3 separate regions of the Homo sapiens genome follow, and regions 1 and 2 are each linked to region 3. Evidence: promoter capture Hi-C in human tissues and cell types (Jung and others, 2019). All regions are on one chromosome and are shown on one strand. Each heading gives the region's core, a stretch centred on a gene start or on the middle of the fragment in contact. The rest is flanking DNA. Distances are from core to core; before and after follow the strand shown.

Region 1 (2,700 bases), core at 99-2,598, 190 kb before region 3:
TTGGGGGTCCTAGATTTCCTCCAGGGCCCCTTGGGTCACACAGGGAGGACAGCGCAAGAGAAGAGGGGGTGCAGAATTCGAGGTGGGCCCCAGGGTCCCCGTGTCTGGCTATGCCAGGGTTATGTTCCAGTTCCACCTGAACCAGCTTCAACAGGGACCAGACCCCCCAACACTCCCCTCTCCCCCTGTGCCCAAAAAAGCTGGCCGATGTAGGCCTTCCTGCTTGCGAAAAGTCTCAACCAGACCCCGAGGACACGGGGAGCAGCTGTTTTGCTGCTGTCCTCCTGCGATGGGCCCCTTTCCCAGAGACCCTGTAGCCCCGGCCCTCAGTCCCAGCCCTCAGCCAACACAACAGCCAAGGATTTTAGCCCCGGCCCTCAGCCAACACAACAGCGAAGTATTTTCAAGGTTTCTGGCTCTGTGGGGGGAACAAGGCAGGATGCCAGGAGGCCTGCAGGACACCTGCTTATGGCCGTGTGCTCGCTCAAGTGTCAAAGCAGCTTCCCAAGGGAAGAAGGGCATCTTGTCCTTGTCACCCTCCCCAGGCCACATCTGGGGAGCAGGGGTGGGGCCAGGTCTCTGGACTCCTGGTGCACTTCCTTCCCCTGGTGACTCCTGAAGCAAGCCAAGGTCCAAGCCCCTGAGCTTGTCCATGGGCCCTGCCAAGACTGGGCCTTGAGGCCAGGAGGAGGAACCAGAGCCGCTCAAAAGGCAGACGGGGTGGGGACGGGAGGAGGCAGCCACGCCTGAGGAGCCGGCAGTCTCTTGGGGTTTTGCCATTGAAAGGGGCTTTCAGTGAGGAAGGCACAAAATCAAGAAAATAGAGCCCCGACCCCTGGCCACGTGGTTCCCCTGCCTGCCTGCACCTCCCCATGGCCCAGCCAGCTTGTGACTAAGGAAAAACATGCAGCTACGCTGATGCAGTTAGGAAAATGTTATTTTTTAAATGCTGCCAGATCCTGGGGGTTGAACCTGTGACCTCAGAACAAGGAGCAGGGTTTGGGGCACGCACCTGCTGCCTGCAGCTTCAGCCTGGGGTGCCCATAGCTCCTTGCCTGCTGCTTGTCTGAGGGTTAGGGGACACAGGAGAGGCACTTGGTGGGGGCTCAAGGAATGTGCCCACCCCTCCCGACTTGAGGAGAGAGAGGAGAGTTTTGTAGCATCCCTGGACCTGGTGTTCCAAATGAGTGGCCTCTGTGCAGGGCCTACGGGCACAGCACGGGGAGCTGGGTATGGTCAGAGCCTCCTGCCCCTGCCCGTGGGGGAGCCAGCCCCCTCCATCCCCCCTCTGCTCTCCTGCTGGCCTCGAAGCCTTGAACAAGGGCCGGCCTGGGCCAGGTAAGGAGCTCCCTGCCCCTCAGCTCCTGCTTCTCCTGGAGCAGCCAAAACTCACTTCAGTGGGGGACATGGGGACAGGAAAGATGCAAGACCCCTGGAAGACACCTGCTTGGGCCCCCAAGAACTGCAGACCACCAGGGGTCCTCCCACTCTACCTGGTGTGCCACGATGCCCCTAACCTGCGCTGCCAGCTCTCTGTGTCCCTTTGATCCCTCACCTGGTGACAGTGGCAGGGCAGCTCAGGGCCCAGAGGGCCTGGCAGCCCCCCGGGGTTCTGACCTGAGCTGAGCTGCTCCGCCTGGGGAGGCTGCAAACAAGGGTGTCTTCTTAGGCCTCCTGGTCACTCCACCCTCACCCCTCAACAGCCTGAGGGTCTGAGACGGGGGTCTCTGGGGCTGGACCCTGAAGGAAGATTGAGCAGCCGGCCTCGGCAAAGACCCTGGGGACGGGGAGGGGAGCTGGGGAGTTGGGAGGGGTTGCAGGGGTGTGGCGGGGCTTCAGAGCAGGGGGAGGGCCTCCATCCTGGCTCTTGGGGGATCAGGGAGGAGTGGTGCGCGCCTGTCCCTGAGCTGGCCATGACAGCTCCCGTCCCCCTTACCTCCTGCCAGGCCCCGGGGCCGCTTTGGAGGGAGCCCCGCCCCCTGCCCCTGCGCAGCCCCCGCCCTAGCCCCAGCCCGGCGCAGCCGGTCCCGCGCGCCCCCGCCCGCATGTGCCGCCAGGCCCGCCCCCGCCCGGCCGCCCGCCCGCCCGGTGGGTCGCGGTGGCCGCGGGCTGCGCTGCGCGGGCCGGGCCTGGCGGGCCGGGGGCTGCGCGCGTCCGCGAGGGCGCCCGACGCGGGCTGAGGGGCGCTGGCGTGTGCCCGCAGGCGGCCCTGCGCGGGGGACGGCGCGCTCCTGGACACCGCCGGCTTCAAGATGAGCGACCTGGACTCCGAGGTGCTGCCCTTGCCGCCGCGCTACCGCTTCCGGGACCTGCTGCTGGGCGACCCGTCCTTCCAGAACGACGACAGGTAGGGACCGGGCGCGGGGTGGGGGCTGGGGTCGCCGTCCCGGCGCCGCCGCACGCCCGGAGCTGTCCGCGGTGCTGACGGCCGGTCCCGCGCGCCCCCGCAGCCGCCGGCGCCCTTCAACTTTTCCCGGCTTCTGGGGACGCAGAAGTTTCGGAGGGGGTGCGGGCAGGGGGAAGCATCTTCTCGGGAGGGGGTCTCCGGAGGAGGGCGCGGGATGCTCGGAGCTGCGGAGTCTTCCAGAGCCCGACTTGGGGCGCGGAGGCGGAGGGCGGCCTGGCCTTCCGGTGTCTGCTCCCAACCCCCAGCACCCCAGTTTTTCTGGTTTTGGGGGCAAGCCAGGGCCGGAAGCGCCC
Region 2 (2,700 bases), core at 107-2,606, 250 kb after region 3:
TGTGTGGGGCATGTTGGGAGGGTGGCGTGGTGGCTGCACTGGGGCTGCCTGGTCACTGCAGGGGTGAGGCTTGGAGACTGCAGGAGTGGGAGGGCCTGGGTGGGGCCCTGCTCTCCATGAGCCGGCCCCTATGGCTCTCCCTAGGGAGCAGACACCTGCAGGGAAGGCCGGGCCAGCTGAGGGGCAGCCTTGGAGAAGCAGCTGCAGGAACATGATGTGGGCTGTGTCTGCAGGTGAACGGCTTCTACAGGGCAGTGTGGGAGGGGAGGTTCCCAGGAGCGGGGAGGCCTGGGCTGCGCTCCTCAGGCCCCTCGCCTCTGGTGTTCCCTGGAAGGAGGGGCGGGAAGCTGGCGGCCCCGGCTGATTGTATTAGACAGGCCTTTATTGATCCAGCTCTTGCTTATCCCTGGTGTCTCATTTCAATAAACAGCAGTTTGGAGAAATTAGCGAGGGACCCTGGCTCCTTCCCCTCCCCCCTGCCCCTCTCCCCCATCTTCCTTTGGATTTGTCAGGAATGGAAGATTTATGAGGATTCGAGTGAGATTCTAATTTGTTCCTGAGACAGCGGGCTCAGAGCATTGAGGGCACGGGCCAAGCCCTTGCTGTTTACATGCCCTGACATGGGGACACAGTCTGGGCCAGGCCAGGGTCCTGGGCAGGGGCCTCACTGCTCAGCCACAGCTGCAGTCATCCGAGGAACTCAGCATGGTGAGAGGGAGATGTCACCAGACCTCTGGGGCCGAGTCAACCATGGGAGAAACCATCAGGAGGCAGCCTGGTGGGAGGGGACTGCCCCAGAGGGCACCACAGAGTTCTACCAGTCCTGGGCAAGTGGTCGTCACATTGCCCGGGCCTCAACCCCTCATCTGCAGGGGAGATGACAGATGTATGTGTGTGTGTGCATATGTGTGTGTGCATGTGTGTGTGCATATGTGTGTGGGTGTGTGCATATGTGTGTGGTGTGCGTGGTATGTGTGTCTGTACATGAGTGTATGTGATGTTATGTGCACCTGTGTGTGTGTACATGGCATGTGTGCATATGTGGTGTGTGCGCGCTTGCTGTGCTTTGGCACACATTGACACTGGCAGTGTAAAAAAACTCCCGTTTTTTTACCCAAATGCAACAGACATTTTCCCAAGTTATTCAATACTCCTTCTCTTTTTCAAAAATATATTTGTCACAGCTACAGAAACTCAGGGGATGGGCTGTAGCATAAAACCCTGAGTGGTTTCGCTTTTCTCCAGACCTTTTGGGGATGCTGTCCCTTCCCTCCCCTCCTTGCCCCTTCCCTCCCTTTCCCTTCCCTTTCTTTGGAAACAGGGTCTGGCTCTGTCGCTCAGGCTAGAGTGCAGAGGTGTGATCACGGCTCACTGCAACCTCCACCTCCTGGGCTCAAGCGATCCTCCCACCTCAGCCTCCTGATTAGCTGGGACTACAGGCAGGAGCCACCACACCGGCTATTTCTGTATTTTTCATAGACTTGAGGTATTGCCATGTGGTCCAGGCTGGTCCTGAAATCCTGGGCTCAAGCGACTGACCCACCTCGGCCTCTCAAAGTGCCAGGATTACCAGCGTGAGCCACCATGCCAGTCTGGGATGCTATTTCTTTATAAATGACATGTCCATGCAGGTGCCAGCCCAGCAGCCTCTGCCTGGAGGCCCCCTTGGCTGCCCTGTCTCTCCCTGGTGCCCATGGGGTCCCTCCTAGTCATAGGGTCCCATTTAGCGAGGCCCACCCAGCCCTCCAGGGAGCCCCCTCCCTCCCTCCCTTCCATTCCCTGCTTATTGCCCATCCCACCTCCAGCAGGTGGGCTCTAGAAGGGCCAAGCTGGCTTTTGTTCCCTGCTCAATCTTCAGTGTCTAGAACAGTGCCTGGTACACAGTGCCTACTGGATGATTTTTAAAATAGATTCTGGCCAGGTCCAGTGGCTCATGCCTGTAATCCCAGCATTTTGGGAGGCTGAGGTCAGGAGTTTGAGAACAGCCTGGCCAATATGGTGAAACCCCATCTCTACTAAAAAAACAAAAATTGGCTGGGCGCGGTGGCTCACCGCCTGTAATCCCAGCACTTTGGGAGGCCGAGATGGGCGTATCACGAGGTCAGGAGATTGAGACCATCCTGGCTAACATGGTGAAACCCTGTCTCTGCTAAAAATACAAAAAATTAGCCGGGCGTGGTGGTGGGTGCCTGTAGTCCCAGCTACTCGGGAGGCTGAGGCAGGAGAATGGCGTGAACCCGGGAGGTGGAGCTTGCAGTGAGCCGAGATCAGGCCACTGCATTCCAGCCTGGGCGACAGAGTGAGACTCTGTCTCAAAAAAAAAAAAAATTAGCCGGGTGTGGTGGCTCGCACCTGTAGTCCCAGCTACTCAGGAGGCTGAGGCAGGAGAATCACTTGAACCTGGGAGACAGAAGTTGCAGTGAGCCAAGATCACACCACTGCACTCCGGCCTGGGTGACAGAGTGAGCCTCCATCTCAAAAAAAAAAAAAAGATTCTAACAATCATTGACTTTAAAAAACAGCTTGATTGAGTTATAATTCTCATACCGTATAATTCACCCATTTAAATTGTGTAATTCAGTGGGTTTTGATATATTACATTAATTTTTAAAAATTGAGGCAAAACATATATAACATAACATTTGCCATTTTAACCTTTTTAAGTGTGTAATTCAGTGGCATTTAATACCTTCACATTTT
Region 3 (2,863 bases), core at 182-2,681:
CTGGGGCACAGGCCACTGTCAAACAGGGCAACGCCTACTCAGCGTTTTCCAAACTGGTCAACTGAACTCTTCTCTGGAAGGGCTGTCTCCTTTAGTCTTACTCTAAAAAGGGTAATTTTTCACCAGAATAAAGGCAAATATTTTAAGAATGCTTCAAATGAAAAGAGGATTGCAGAAATATTAACCTTTAATTGTACCTGAAACAAAGCACCTGAAATTAATAAAGAAGTCAGCCACTGACGAGAATCACTAGGTCTGTCCTGTTCCCAGGGCACGAAACAGAAGCGTCTTAATCCACTAAGCACATTAGGGCCTAACAAACTGGACTGAGTAACAAGGTTACCTAGTTCTTCCAAACAGGAATTAACCAAAGGGGATCATTATGATTAAGCACAATGCGCGGAATACGCAATTTCTAGTTGGGGAATTCAACAGCTGACAGCTTGTAAGCATCAAAATTCATAACAAGTGCAAGGCTCGGAATCACAGGTCCAGCACTGGACGATGCCCGGCGCGCCGGGAAGCGGCGCCTCAGACGGCGGCCCCGCGTCCCCATGGTCCCTCCCTGCGCCCAGAACCGGGCAGCTCCTTCCCGCCGCCGCCGCCGCCAACGGGAGGCTGGGGGCACTCCCGAAATAGGAGCGGAAGCCCCGACCCACGCCGCCCTCCGCCGCAGGGACGCCCACTCGCCAGGTGACCGCGTCCCCACGCTCCGCGTTGCCCGGGCGCCGCCAGGACCTCGGAGGCGGCCGGCCCAGCCCCGACCCTGTGCGGACGCGGCACAAAGGCGCGGCGCGCGGACCCCGACCCGGCCGGACCCCGGCCGCGTCCCCCGGCCCCGGCCCGCGCCCCTGGCCCCCGCCCCGCGCCCCTCACCCGGCCCACCTCGGCCGTAGGCCTTGGCGCAGATCCACTGCAGGTTGGCGGCGATCTTGGCGCGCGCCGCGTCGTAGCGGTCCAGGGGCACGAGGTCGGCGGCGCCGTCCGGCGGGGCCTCCATCTTCCTCCAGCCCTCGGCGGCGGCGCGGCCGCTCGCGTCCACCATCTGCAGACAAAGGGCTGAGGCGGCGGCCCGGCCGCAACAAAGGCGCCGCCGCCCCTCGCCGCGCCGGGCCCGGTGCGCCCCGAGCCACCACTCGGCCCCGCAGCCGGCCAGCCGGGAGGGGCGCCCGAGCGCGGCCCCCGCCTCACCTCACAGCCGCCGCCGTCGCCGCCCCCGCGGCTGCTGCATGCTGCGGGCGCTGAGCCCGAGCGGAGGAGGTGCCGAGCCCGCGGCCCAAAGAGGCGGCGGCAGGAGGGCGCGGGCCGGGGGCGGGGGCGGGCGCGGGGGCGGGAGCGGGCCGGGGGCGGTGGCAGCGCGTGCGCGGTCCCGGGTGAGCGGCGGCGGCGGCGACAGCGGCTGAGGCGGTGGCCAAGGAGCGGGAGCGCGCTCACCGCCGGGGCCTCGCACAGGCGCAGTAGGCACCGCCCGCCACCCCGCCCTCGACCCCGCCCCCAGCTCCGCTCCCTTCTCGCGCCTGCCCCGCCCCTTTCCGCAGGCGCAGTAGGCACCGCCCGCCAGCCCGCGCCCGCCCCGCCCCTTTCCGCAGGCGCAGTAGGTGGCACCCGCAGGCCTGTGCCTGCCCCGCCCCTTTCCGCAGGCGCAGTGAGCGTCGACCCGCCCCTCCCCGCCCGCTTCCGCAGGCGCAGTAGGACCCGCCCTGGTCCGCGCCTGCCCCGTTGCTTTCCTCAGGCTCTAAGGCCCGCGGTGTGGAGCGCGGCGTAGGCAGCGGGGAGTGGGCGGCGCGGGGTGGGTGGAGTGGGTCGGCGGCGGGGATCCTGCCGAGCCCGCAGCTGCCCTCTTTTAGCGCCGTGTCTCCTCCCCGGCCCTGGCTCGTCCCACCTCAGCCACAGCCCGGCCCCCTGGCCGGCCGAGGTCTCGCCGCCGGCGCCCTGGGGACCTCGTGGGTGTGGCCGGCGGCGACCTCGGCAGGCGACAGCCCAGCAGACGGGCACCAGGTGGACGTGCCAGTCTCCAGACCCCCGTCCCGGTGCAGGGAAGGTGGGCGTTTGGACCCCTGAGGCAGAAACAGGTGCGGCCCCGCCGGCGCATCCCCCGGAAGGGACGCTGACTTCGTTCCCCTGGAGCCTGCGTCGGGGCCCGCGCTGGGCTGAGAATTACGGGAACGCCGTGAGAGTTTGCATTCCGAGGATTTGGTCTGAGAACCTCACCAGCGAAATAGAGAACTGCCCCCGGGAGAGCCGGCCCACGTGCCGCCCACCGGCGCCTTGACGGCAGGGAGAGGTCGAGCTTCCAGGGAGCGGGCGCCCGGCGCGGGGCTCCCAGCCTGTCTGTACCTGGTCGAGACACCCCGTGCCAGAGGCGGAACATGTATGAAATGCCAGGTGCCCAGAGGACCCAGGCAGTCCGTCATTCACATACCAACCCACGTGCAGGCTTCAATTCAACCTTGAAGCCATTTGGGCCTGGGCTTTTTTGATGACTTATTTGATTCATAGTTTTTTGGTTACTAATTGAGTCTCTTCACTTGTTATAGGTCTGTTGAGATTGTCTATTTTTTCTTGAGTCAGCCGTCTGAAAAGAACACGAGGTGGACAGGGCAGAGCGGTCAAGGAAAGCCATAGGAGGAGGGCACTTATTTGAGCAAAGACCGGCGGGACGTGGGCGTCGAGGGTAAGGATATCTGCAGAAGTACTGTCTTGAGCAAGGAGCACGGCAGACAGAGCCTCTGAGACACGAGAGCCTGGAGTGTAAGAAACACAGTAGAGGCCACTAAGTCGAGAACGCAGGAGCTGGAAGGACTGGTAGGAAATGGGAGGTGGGGACATGGAGGGATGCAGACAGGTCCTGCACAGTCAGAAC

Evidence for each region. Contacts are between HindIII fragments. The study calls those that stand out against the background at their distance.
Region 1: a contact is called between a fragment that was not itself captured here and the fragment with the promoter of CAMSAP1 in region 3, in 1 of the 25 tissues and cell types used here (mesendoderm cells).
Region 2: a contact is called between a fragment that was not itself captured here and the fragment with the promoter of CAMSAP1 in region 3, in 2 of the 25 tissues and cell types used here (IMR-90 fibroblasts and dorsolateral prefrontal cortex).

Annotation. Positions count from the first base shown.
Region 1 is chr9:135,712,374-135,715,073 of GRCh38, forward strand. It overlaps KCNT1 (potassium sodium-activated channel subfamily T member 1), which reads left to right. Exons shown (of 31, transcript NM_020822.3): 2 at 2,204-2,347. Among named protein-coding and RNA genes, the nearest start is that of KCNT1, 12 kb to the left of the region's middle. The HindIII fragment of the contact is 6,055 bases long and covers 1-2,700 here.
Region 2 is chr9:136,160,453-136,163,152 of GRCh38, forward strand. No RefSeq gene overlaps it. Among named protein-coding and RNA genes, the nearest start is that of TMEM250, 43 kb to the left of the region's middle. The HindIII fragment of the contact is 7,426 bases long and covers 1-2,700 here.
Region 3 is chr9:135,906,115-135,908,977 of GRCh38, forward strand. CAMSAP1 (calmodulin regulated spectrin associated protein 1) reads right to left here and starts at 1,432. Exons shown (of 17, transcript NM_015447.4): 1 at 886-1,432. The coding sequence starts at 1,045. CAMSAP1-DT (CAMSAP1 divergent transcript) reads left to right here and starts at 1,719. Exons shown (of 2, transcript XR_007061860.1): 1 at 1,719-2,805. RefSeq lists silencers at 571-620, 1,021-1,090, 1,171-1,280, 1,321-2,000. The HindIII fragment of the contact is 39,877 bases long and covers 1-2,863 here.